Regions from separate parts of the Homo sapiens genome. Here regions 2, 3 and 4 are each linked to region 1. The links are contacts of gene promoters, found by promoter capture Hi-C in blood cells and fetal thymus (Javierre and others, 2016). All regions are on one chromosome and are shown on one strand. The core of a region is centred on a gene start or on the middle of the fragment in contact, and the rest is flanking DNA. Distances in the headings are between cores, read along the strand shown. Region 1 holds the start of GLRX2 (glutaredoxin 2). Region 2 holds the start of RGS1 (regulator of G protein signaling 1). Region 3 overlaps LOC105371664 (a long non-coding RNA gene). Region 4 has its middle 100 kb from the start of RGS1.

The links. Contacts are between HindIII fragments. The CHiCAGO score rates a contact against its expected background, and 5 or more counts as called.
Region 2: a contact is called between the fragment with the promoter of RGS1 here and the fragment with the promoter of GLRX2 in region 1, in 7 of 17 cell types (M0 macrophages, M1 macrophages, M2 macrophages and 4 more). The highest score is 11.3, in M0 macrophages.
Region 3: a fragment that was not itself captured here is called in contact with the fragment with the promoter of GLRX2 in region 1 in 1 of 17 cell types (M0 macrophages); the score reaches 6.2 in M0 macrophages.
Region 4: a fragment that was not itself captured here is called in contact with the fragment with the promoter of GLRX2 in region 1 in 2 of 17 cell types (neutrophils and M0 macrophages); the score reaches 7.0 in neutrophils.

What each region holds. Positions count from the first base shown.
Region 1 is chr1:193,104,112-193,107,015 of GRCh38, forward strand. GLRX2 (glutaredoxin 2) reads right to left here and starts at 1,303. Exons shown (of 4, transcript NM_197962.3): 1 at 1,153-1,303. The coding sequence starts at 1,271. RefSeq lists silencers at 1,092-1,191, 1,168-1,462, 1,242-1,481. The HindIII fragment of the contact is 5,966 bases long and covers 1-2,904 here.
Region 2 is chr1:192,574,261-192,577,334 of GRCh38, forward strand. It overlaps RGS1 (regulator of G protein signaling 1), which reads left to right and starts at 1,513. Exons shown (of 5, transcript NM_002922.4): 1 at 1,513-1,669; 2 at 2,025-2,105; 3 at 2,514-2,575. The coding sequence starts at 1,533. All of the region lies in intron 3 of LOC105371664 (a long non-coding RNA gene), which reads right to left. RefSeq lists an enhancer at 1,358-1,437. The HindIII fragment of the contact is 3,705 bases long and covers 431-3,074 here.
Region 3 is chr1:192,538,647-192,541,840 of GRCh38, forward strand. All of the region lies in intron 4 of LOC105371664 (a long non-coding RNA gene), which reads right to left. Among named protein-coding and RNA genes, the nearest start is that of RGS1, 36 kb to the right of the region's middle. The HindIII fragment of the contact is 1,260 bases long and covers 1,147-2,406 here.
Region 4 is chr1:192,469,345-192,472,240 of GRCh38, forward strand. No RefSeq gene overlaps it. Among named protein-coding and RNA genes, the nearest start is that of RGS1, 100 kb to the right of the region's middle. The HindIII fragment of the contact is 7,907 bases long and covers 1-2,896 here.

The DNA.
Region 1 (2,904 bases), core at 53-2,552:
CAATAGAACACAAGAGAATGTTTTCTTGGGTAGTGAGAGGAGGTAGGAGGTGCATTCTGAAATATTACCCAAATAAAAGTTTCTGGAAGACACCCTTTCCCTTCAATTTCTAGTTGACCTTGGTAAAAACTGTCGCGAACTATGAATAGAAACATGCACGGAGGAAGTAAGTGCACAATAAACATTTCATTTCAACACAGATGAAGCACCTAGTCATGCCACATTTATGGAGCGCCTACTGTGTGCTAAGTAGGCAAAGTGCTATATTGACCCCAGGGATACGCAGAAAAAAACACGGCGGGGCCTCAAAGAGCTGTCAAACACTTAACAGCCTGTGATTAGCCCTTCAGGAGGGGTCTCTAGCTTGGTCTGGAAAGTTAAACTTGAGATTCCTAGAATCTTGCAAAACTGATAGAAGCTCCCAGATCAAGTAGATAGCGAGACAGACTCTCCGGCCAAGTGCGCAGTGGCAGGCGCGGAAGTGCGAGCCGGCAGGACCGCCAGGCACCAGCCGCGCGGGCGTGGGCAGCACAGCCGCAGTTCCCTTCCACTGCAGGTCCCGAAGCCGCTGATATTCCAAACGAGGAAGTGTAAGGAAAGCACTATCCTCGGTCTAGCCGCAGGCGGCATCACCATCAGTCAGCCTCTATCCTAAAAGCTCTGGCCATTCAGCGGGAATCATCGCCTTCACTTCCTGCAGTAGGGTGGCTAAGTTTAGCAAACAAGAATGCAGGACGCCCGGTCAAATTAGAATTGTAACCAAACACCAGAAAACTGTTCCGTTTTTCCTATGTCCACTGCAGTATTTGGGACACACTTGGACTAAGAATCATTCGCTCTTTCAGAGAAATTCCAATTGATTGCGGCGTCTTGTATTTTATGTAGCAATTCACAGAGGGATGGCCTAAGTGAACATGAGTGAAGTATTTTCAACGCGAGAGTCACAGGCTCCTGAAGTCAGCACAGCCGCGGAGGGCACCCTTCCCTGCCCATCCCTCGAGCGCCTCTGCGTGTTATGACTCAGAGCCCACGCGCTAGTACGCCTCGCCCACCCGGCGCCGGGGCAAAGGGGCACCTCCGCCCACCGCTTTCTCCAGACCCCCGCAAGGCCTGCGCACCACGCCGCGGCACTCCTGCCCGCTGACCCCGTACCCAGAGGCCGCAGCTGCCGCAGCTCCCGCAGCTCCCGCCGCCCTGTCAAGCCAGCCTGCCGAGCCGCTCCTGCTCCAAACCAGCCGCGTCCCCGCCAGCGCCGCGCGGCGCCAAATCATGGTCAGAGCCCGGATCTGCAGCGAGCTCTACTGCCGGACACCGCGGATCCCGGGAGCCCGCCTCCTCCGGCCCGGCCCCCGCCTTGCCCCGCCCCGTCCCGCCCCTCCGGACTGCCCGCGCCGCCGCCGGTCACCTCCTCGCAGCTGAGCGCGTCCTCCCAGGGCTGCCCGAGCGCTGGATTCCAGCGAGTGCCACCCACGTGTAAACATCCTTTAGAGGGGAGAAGCGGCTCACTTGCTTATCTCGAGGGTTCATCCGAGCCCCGCCTCTGGATTCTTTTAGGTTTAGGGACGCTCATAAAGGCTCCCAGGCACTTGGAAGCAGTGCATGAGGATGGTGGCAGACATGCTGGGGAAACGGAGGAGAAAAAACATGACCATCCAAAACAGAATCAAAGTGGTGCCTCAGATGTTTCCAACTACCTGTTACACAAGTTTTTGTGTGGATGAAATAAGAGCCTAAATATATCCTCTTATAATTAGGCAATTGGTCGAGACCCAATGTAAATTATGGGGATATTGGGGTTTACATCCATAATTAAAAGAAAAAATCCGGTGTTGAAGGTTTACTCCAAAGAAGACAAAGATTATTTCCCACCACCTGCCAAAAAAAAAAAATTAGGAAACAAAACAAAAGAAATTAGCACAGAGATGTTTCACCATGGCTTTGGAAATGGGCGATTGCTGTTGACAGGATTATTTAAGCCACTCAGTGGTGGTAATAATAGCCTTTGTGCGTCACTATTTAAGGTTGGGGGTAAGCCTTTATTTACTGAGGACACTGAAATTCATCTTAAAGTCAAAGGTCAAATGGTACATCTAAAATTCTAAACAATTATTACAACAATCCAGAGCTTTTTTGATTCTTCATGTTCAACTAAGTGTAAAATTCATGTTACCAAAGTACAAAATAAGAACTTGTATTTCTGACAGTTCTTTTCCAACATTCAAATGGGCTATGTTTGATTACTTAATAAAAGGATGGAAGTTAGTTGCAAAAATAAATACCCCCAAAGGGTAGGAATTCATTCTTTTTAAAGACAAATTTGACTTTGAAAATTAAGGCATGTGGCCAGGCGCGATGGCCTGTCCTGTAATGTGGCCATTACAGGACTGCCCGCTGACCCCGTACCCAGAGGCCGCAGCTGCCGCAGCTCCCGCAGTGGCCAGTCCTGTAATCCCAGCACTTTAGGAAGCCGAGGCGGGCGGGTCACCTGAGGTTGGGGGTTCAAGACCAGCCCCTCCAATATTGGTGAAACGCCGTCTCTACTAAAAATACAAAATTAGCCGGGCGTGGTGGCGCATGCCCGTAATCCCAGCTACTCGGGAGGCTGAGGCAGGAGAATCGCTTGAATCCATGAGGCAGAGTTTGCAGTGAGCCAAGATCACACGATTGCACTCCAGCCTGGGCAACAAGAGCAAAACTCCGTCTCATAAAAAAATAAATAAATAAAATAAAATAAAAATTAAGGTATGTTATCTATCTATAGTGTTGTGGGCTTTTTAATTTTTTTATAAAACTATTTTGGAAATTTATGGTGTTATGTTAGTTTTGAAGTCAAATTTTACCTCATCTCAAATTGTTTTATGAAATAAAGATCATTATGAGGTGAACCGATCATGTTACAATTTA
Region 2 (3,074 bases), core at 263-2,762, 530 kb before region 1:
AATGCCTTTATGTCATCTGTCTTTGAGTTTCATCGGTCTCATTAGGGTCACTTCCAAAGTGGCCAGCTCATCTCACCAGTTATCTTTCTTAATGCCTTATGTTATCTTCCCAACATAAAATGATGCTTGTTACATACAATATAATGAGCTCATTATAATGAAATTAATGACTGTGTATAAGTGAATTTTATAATATTGTAAATGTGTTTTCTTCAAATATTCTTTATCCTGACGATAGAACCAGAACAGAAAAATTAATACTCCCCTCCCTTTTATCAGCTTTACCTAATACCATCAGAAGCTTCACTAAGTAAATGCTTTTTTGTCCTTTTAAAGGAAAGTATTGTCCTTCCAGGGGTAAAATCCAAGGAGGCTTAAGTTAAACTGGGTACTCTATAAATAAGCCACACTTGTTATATAAACTTTTGAAAGCTTATATTTTACTAACTTCTCTATCCTTATAAATGATTAGTCATCTAGTTCCTTGAGTTTTGTTTGTGTTTTAAACTTTAATCTCAATTAAAGCTAAAACTGTTATCTCTCCAGAGATACTGCCAAAATGTGAAAGATCATTACCTAAGAAGTACACATTATTGGTCTATCCAAATAGACTTTTATTTTACCTTGAGCAGTTTTTCCTCTGATACTGTGACCTTGGTATCAGTATGTTTACAAATTATGTCATATTTGTATACAATTAAACATTTATTTATTTATGATTGGTTTTAATTAAACTTTATTTTTTCCTAATATGCAAAATATGCAAAAATCAAAGTTTGATATACTAGTTATATTCTTAATAAATATGAAAATAATATTAAAAACCATGCACCCCTTAAAATCATCCTATGTATTGCCAGTCGATGTCTAGCACACACCTTGGAAAATATTAACATGGAAATTTCCTGCCATGGAAATAAGGGATGAGAATTGGAGTGGGAAAATGTGAAGATAGCCTCTTATAACTTTCCCTCCTATCAGATATGTGCAAAATAATTAAACAAAAATTATTTGTTTACTTTGCCCTGCTTCCTGCAGAAAAGAAGAGAACTCTTAAAATATTTTGATCAGATGAATTTTATAGTCAAGGACTATCCAAAGCATGGAGTAAGATACAACTCTATGTGATGAATTTCTATGTGAGTTTCTATATGATAAATTAATACGCCAAATGAAACAGTTTATTGAAACATGCAACTTTTTTAAAATAAACAAACATCCTCCAGAACCAAAGACTGATGCTGTTAATGCTTTAGACATGTGACATATGTGTGTGTACCTCTGTATGTTTAATTTTCTTTCTTTCTAATCAAGTGACCTGTTCTCGTTTGGTTAAGTTTCAACCACAAGACACCACTGTATGCTTTTTTTTTTTCAAGATACACGTCACAGCACACCAAGAAAAGGGGAACTTCCAGTGTCTGTGGTAACATCACTTGATAAACAGACTCCTTTAAACAGCAAGTGCCTGTCTGCATTCTACTATATAAAGCAGCAGAGACGTTGACTAGCGCATATTTGCTAAGAGCACCATGCGCGCAGCAGCCATCTCCACTCCAAAGTTAGACAAAATGCCAGGAATGTTCTTCTCTGCTAACCCAAAGGAATTGAAAGGAACCACTCATTCACTTCTAGACGACAAAATGCAAAAAAGGAGGCCAAAGACTTTGTAAGTTTGTTCAGAGTCTCACTTTGTGAATTTTAACAAGTTATCTTTAATGGCAGAAGGATTGAGAATGAATGGAAGAGAGTGTGAGCATTTAGTTTAGCCAGATCAGAGGAGTTAATTGCCTGTTGTGAGTAATAAGTAATATTCAGCTGCATTAAAAAATAAATCTTGATATGGCATTAAATTGGGTAGGAGTTTTTCTCTACACAGGCTCATAAAAATGGGTTCTATAGCAAAATGTTGTATCAACCATTTTTAGTATTGCCTTATTCCTTAGAGAAATTTATTCTATGTCTTTTTACAAATAAAATGAATTCTGAAGAAATATGAATATTCACTTTTATGTCTTTTGTAGTGGAATGGATATGAAAGCATACCTGAGATCTATGATCCCACATCTGGAATCTGGAATGAAATCTTCCAAGTCCAAGGATGTGTAAGTACACTAATACACTAAACTATCATTATCATTTACAAGAGAAGCCTATGCATTATCTCTATATCCCAGCAAGGGATAAATACTGCGCACAGTAGACTTCATTTCTTTTAAGTAACATGCCAAATAAAATTAGACTATCAGTACCAATGTAAATTGAATACAAATGTGTACACACACATATTGGACTTTATCTATTTGGATTTTTTCAAATTTTATTGGCAGGTTTTTTTTTTCATAACTATAGTAACTCTAAGGGAAGTTTTGCATTTTGTGAATAAATTTTAACATATTTATTAGAACTACAGTTTCAGTTTGTGAAGTTATCAAAGTGTAACAGCCATTCTTATTTCATTTGTGCTTACATTTTAAAAATTGACTAATGTATGTACATTTTGTCCCCTGCAGACTTTCTGCTGCTGAAGTAATGCAATGGTCTCAATCTCTGGAAAAACTTCTTGCCAACCAAAGTAAGTATAACTATTGAATGTTTCTGGGTTCAGCTAAATACTCTAAAAAATTGAATGGCTTCACTAAATATAGTATTCTGGGTAGGATAGTATGCAAAAGGTTGTATTCTAGTTTGTCTGTAGTTACTGATAACTTCAGCATAGTATGCCTCTTAATAATGCTGACTTAGCACTCAATTCTGCCAACTCCTTTTAGACAAATTTGCCAAGACAATTAGGTATTTTCATAGATCATTATGGAGATAAAATTAAACATTGTGCTGGGATTCTGATATGTAAAAATTTTAAAAGTAAGCCAAATATTTTAATATGTACATTGCCATTTTGAAATCTGCCTAAAGAATGTATTTTTCTACACTTGGATGTAACAAGTATGATTCATTCATTCAATTAATTAAATTATCTTTCATACATTCATCATTCATCTCACCCTTATGTAGAGGACATTGTAGAGGTACCAAGGATTCAAAATCAAAGACAGTCTCTTACTGCCTTGAAG
Region 3 (3,194 bases), core at 527-3,026, 560 kb before region 1:
AGTTTATCCTTTTTTTCTACACAGGGATATTCAGGTGGTGGCATATCTAAAAAACCTTACATAAACAAAAATGTATTTTTAAAATATATTTTATGCTACTTAAATAAGAAACCAAAAAAGAAAAATGGGAAGGCGATTGTCCTCTCCTCCCAGGCAGGGTAGATAAGAAAATAGAGAGGCAACATGAAGTGGATACTTGCAACTCTTAATGAAACTGAACCAGATACTCAAGACAGATGGGCTCCCCTACATCTTGCAAAGCAAAACTTATTTGTTCCTTTTACATTTTCAATTGCTTAATTTGAATTTCTTGGTGCAGGCAAAAGGATTTGTGAGAAATGTTTTACCCTCTTTCATTAAAAAAAAAAAAAACTATTCAATAGCAACTGTCTGAAGAAGGGGAGAAAAAAGGAAAGAAAACAAGAAAAGCCACAAAGCCCAGCTGCACTTAGTTTCTGTTCACTTAGTGCAGCTTATGACGTAGGCTCGTTGTATTTTGAATTTGCACATTAAAAACATTCATTCAGAGAGGAAACTGCCTTTGGCATAACCTGCAGAAGCAAATAGCATTCACAGAACTGTTATTCAAAAAATTGTACCCAGAGAGCTATATTTCTTATTTAAATGAAACTTAAGTAGAACCAGGGAGGAGGGGGAGGTATGTTTTATGGTGGGTAACTTCTGACTTAAAATTTGAATCAGGTTTCATAAACAATTATTGGAATCTGAGAAAAAGTCAAGCATCAAACCCTGAGTAGCTGAGAGTTTGGGGGTCTCACAGCACAAAAAAAAGGGTGTTGAAAGAGGAAGCCCCGTTTTTGCTCTAAGTGACTTGCCTGATCCCGAAGTTATGTTAGCTTGTTTACCTCCAAGCACACCTTTGGAGTGAGATTTTTAAAGCAGTTCTCTTTGTAACATCAACATTACAATCTATATCCTGAAAACTACGAAGTTTTATATTCCTCCTTCCCCTCACTAGGCCTCCCCTGGCCTGCTTGTGTATTTGCTTCTTAGGGTCTACAGGCCTCTCTCTGAACTAAAGCTCTTTTGAAGTCCCAGACTTCCTATCTCCACCCAGGATCTAACTTAGTGTGATAAAGGATAATTTATTTATGAAAAACATTCATGCCATTCTTTTAAACTAGAAGCTTACATTTCAAGGGTATGGAAATGATTTCTAGCTGCCCTAATTTCATGGCATTGGGCTGTCGTATGTCATATACCACTGCACTGTTCATAATATTTAGACAGTTCCATAGCAACCTGTAAAATACAGCCTCCAGAGGTCTGCATTCCTCCAGCTATTCATGAAGGATTGGAGGAATTCCAGAGGAAAGAAACCACATTACAGAGCACTGGGTCTGAAATGCTCCCTTTATGGTAGCAATTGCAGGAAACCTGGAGCAAAAACATGTCTTAGGATTTGATGCAGACCTCACTACAGTTTCTAGAAGCATTCCCTTTTCACTTCTAGTTTTCTGACTTTACTTATAAGGTATCCAAAAATGGTTTGATAAAATTAGACTGCTTTATAGCTTATCTTTTTTTCCTTTCCAGGGTGGACAAATAAATTATCAGATTTTTATTACTTAAAATGTGTTATACAAAAATATTAGTGGGCAATACAGAAACGCAAATATATTCTAAGGCCTGGTTCTCTTTCCATTTGCTTCTTGAAATTTGCAAGTAAAATTTTCATTTTGGCCTACTTTTGAACCAGACCACAAAAACTTACTTTATTACACTATCCATTCACATTAAAATAGAATTTCTACAGTGACCAGCACAGAGATTTTAAATAAATGTGGTCGACACTCCTTAGTCACTGTTGCCATCTTCACTCTCTCCATCTCTCATTTTCATCAACCTGTAAGATAAGTCACTATCTATTTTCTATCTATATTTCATTCAAAATGTCTTATACGTTTGTAGCTCTCTATTCTCATAGGTACTACTTATCTCCAAATTATATCTCCTCGCATAAGATTACCATAATAGTCTACCACTTTATGTCTTTTAAAATATTTCCTGTAGCACCTTATAGAACACACAATATTTTATATATTCATCACATTTGATCCTCAACCTATGTTTTAAGCAAAGCAAACATCATCCCAGCTTCACAGATAAGAAAATGGTCTCAAGAAGACTAAATGACTTTCTTAATCAATGTCATGAAGGTAGCAAGAGACAGAAACAAAACTTGAACTCAAAACCCTTGAATCTAAATCCCAGTTCCCTAAACTTAATACTTCCTTCTTAAGGCCAAATAACAACAGCACAATAAAACCCGCTAAAAATTTCAACAGGTCCCTATTTATTAAACACATATGGCAACTTAGAAGTGGAGTGGCCTTACAGAGTATGAGGTTTAACAATCCTCATTTTATATATTATAGCTCCAGAAGCTTGAGGACTGGGTGATATTTCCAACATTACAGAACCAACGATAGACCCCACCAGTTCTTGAATCCACTGACTCCCAGCTACAGCATTTTCTGCTACACTTTTCTGTCTTACTGCCTTAAGTGACCCCCAGAATTTTTAGCTTTTGATAACATGTCCCAGTAACATGTCCAGCTTTAATTTTACCATCTCAAAAATGTGCCTCTGCTAAAAACAGGTTTATACATTTCACTTTCCAACAGGGGGACCACACTGATACAACCTCTGGACAGTGGTCCACATTGCTCACCAAACCTGGAGCAATGTTCCCTTCAGTCTTTCCAAGTACAAGTCCTAGTCAAATTCTACTCCCTGCACAGAGCTGGCATCTCTGTACCTCAAGAAACCTCCCTTCTCCGACTTCTTGCAGTACTTGTAGTTTCTACCACACAGATCTCATACCTGCAAATCCCTTTGAGGTCAGTGGCCAACTGGTCCTATGTTCCTGTCTAATCTCGTTCCCATGTTCTCCTCACTGAGAACAGTTGTTATATGAAATGTTATTTCCTTTTCCTAGAATATCCTTCCACTCTCACATATTAAACTGTCTAGAATATTCCTACTCAGGCTTTGCTTCTCAGCTTAAATGCTGCTTCCTCCATGAGGCCCCTGCTGTCTCTAGGTGACATAGGAAAGCTGTTTTCTGAGTTCCTATAGCATTCTGTACATTACTCCTTCAAACCAGTTATCTGATTTATATTGAAGTTGTCTACATGTCTGTTTCCTCACTAAAGATTCCTTGTCATAGA
Region 4 (2,896 bases), core at 123-2,622, 630 kb before region 1:
AATCTATAACCCTTAGATTTGTTTTTTGAGGATATTTTCCAGATCTAATCGATATGCTTCACGTCATTTCCTTTTTTCTTTTTCCTTTCTTCTTCTCTGTGTATCTTCATACAGCCTGTCTTAAAACTCACTAATTCTTTCTTCTGCTTAATTCTGCTGTTGATAAACTATGATGCATTTTTTGGTTTCTCAATTGAATTTTTCAGTTCTAGAATTTTTCCTTGATTTTCAAGAAATATTTCAATCTCTTTGTTAAATTTCTCTGATAGAACTCTGAATTCCTTTCCTGTGTTATATTGAGTTCACTGAGCTCCCTCAAAATAGCTACTTTGAATTCTCTGTCTGAAAGATCACATATCTCTGTCACTCTGGGATTGGTCACTGGTTCCTAATTTAGTTCGTGTATTGAGCTCATGTTTTCTGGATGGTCTTGATGCTTCTGGAAGTTCATCAATGTCTGGGCTTGTTTGTACCCATCCTTCTTGAGAAGGTTCTCCAGGTATTCAAAGGAAATTGAGTATTGTGATCTAAGTCTTTGGTCACTGCACCCATATTGTACTGGGTGCACCCCAAACCTGATAATGCTGCAAATCTTGCAGACTTGTACCACCTTAATGGGCTCAGGTAAGATACAAGATTATTTTCTGTATTACCAGGCAGAGTATCTTGTTCTCCTCCCTTACTTTCTGCCAAACTGAAGGAAGCTCTTTTTCCATGTTGTGCTGCCTAGCATTGGGGGTGAGGTGATACAAAAACTCTCCTCGTCACCCTAGCTGTTGTTTTACTGGGAAGTGTGCACCTCAAGTCACTGGCTCTGAGCTCAGCACAGCACCAGTACTTGCCCAAGGACTGCAGCCCTTGTAGTCTGACTGCCTTTCAAATGTATTCAAGACCCCATGCCACTTTAGTCAGCCAGTAGTGGAACTAGCTGGAGCTCAGGCCCCTACTCCTGGGGCAGGAGTTTCCCTTCTGACTGAGGCTGTTTTAAATGTTCCCTCCATGGGCACTGGCAGAATTTTGCCATGTGTAATATGTATTCCACTGTGAAAGGGTAGAACGAAGTTCCAGTGCAAATTCCCACAATCACTTCACTTTCCCTCCCCCAAGCACTCAATATACTCTCTCCATGGCACTGCTGGGGTTGAGGACAGGTGGTGTTGGCAATGCAAGACTGTCTTTCCCACTCTCTTCAATGTCTGTTATTTCGATACAATGTTAAAACCAAGCACTATAATCACTCATCTGATTTTTGTCCTTATAAAGTTGCTTTCTTGCATAGATAGTTGTGCAATTTGGTGTCCCTTTACAAGGGGTATGGCGGGGGGAATTTCTGGAGAGTTCTATTTGGCCATCTTGTTCTGCCTTCCTTAAATTCTTCATTTAAAAGAAGTAAGGTTCTTGATTGATCTAGAGAAGGGAAAATGCTATTTTCTCCTTCTCACCCATTCTGGAATATATTCTGACCATAAAAAAATTGCTATGGCTCATGCCTGTAATCCCAGCACTTTAGGAGGCCAAGGCGGGTGGATCACGAGGTCAGGAGATCGAGACCATTCTGGCTAACATGATGAAACCCTGCCTCTACTAAAAATAAATACAAAAAAATAGCCAGGCATGGTGGTGGGCACCTGTAGTCCCAGCTACTCGGGAGGCTGAGGCAAGAAAATGGCGTGAACCTGGGAGGCGGAGCTTGCAGTGAGCCAAGATCACGCCACTGCACTCCAGCCTGGGTGACAGAGAGAGACTCCGTCTCAAAAAAAAAAAAAAAAAAAAAAAAAATTGCTACCATTTTAATATAGCAATAGAGCAGATAGATACTTCAAATTTGTAAATTGCACATGTGAACTGGGTCTCTTTTATTTAATAATAAATGGACAAGGTAAATGGGAAATCATACACTTATTTACTTATTTACTAAGTACGTATAAAATGACTTCTCTTTCTAAGATGCTATAGTATATTAGGCAGGAGAATTTCCCAGATCTTACTATATTCAAAGCATAAGTGATATGCAATTGTGATACATGTTTAGTTCTATTTGTAAATAAAGAAATTTTTATTTATTTTTTGATATCAGATAAAAAGTAGTCCTTTTGCTATTAGTGTTAGGTTTATTAAGGGAAGATTAAGAAATTACTATAAATAACATATGTCTACAGGCTTACCATATTATCTCCAATCTCTTTATTTTGTATGAGTGCTAGAAAAATGAGATTTACGACAAAGCATATAAAGAGAAAGTCCTCTCTAAAAAATTAAATTTAAGAAAATAAACACTAGTCATTTTGTTTATTTAGAATCTCTTAAAGTATGTTTCTTGGAAAACTTCTTCCCACAAGAATAATGGATAGTTCAAGAAAAAATGTTTATATGATCAAATCAGTTTGGGAAATGCTCTATGTTATAAACTCTCTTTTGGAAATTCACAATACACATGCACAAATTAAAGGGTCTGAAGACCCTTTTAAGTTTAAAAAAAAATTGTTTAGCCCAGTGTTTCCCAAATTTTGGATAGCACAAAGACATGTTAGCAAAGAATGTGATCTCTTATAATTCAAAATACAAGATTTTTAAAGATAGTCAAGTGGCATCAGCTAAAGATGAATATGATCTTCATATATACCCCAAATCTCTGTCTCTTCTGCTCGTAGTGTGTAAAAGGTGTCCTGTTTCTGTTTAAAGGCTTGCTATCCCACTTGACTCTGCTTATCACCTAGTTTAACTTTCTCAATGACCTCATTCCTGCATCATCAATTTTTTGTTGATATTTTTCTTTATTGAGATGCTGGTCCACTGACTATGAAAACAATCTTTTTTAACTCCCTTTTGGGAAAAGATTACTTGAAAAATGTCAAGTTATCACCTATTTCTTTGCTGCCCATTAGGGCAAAATTCT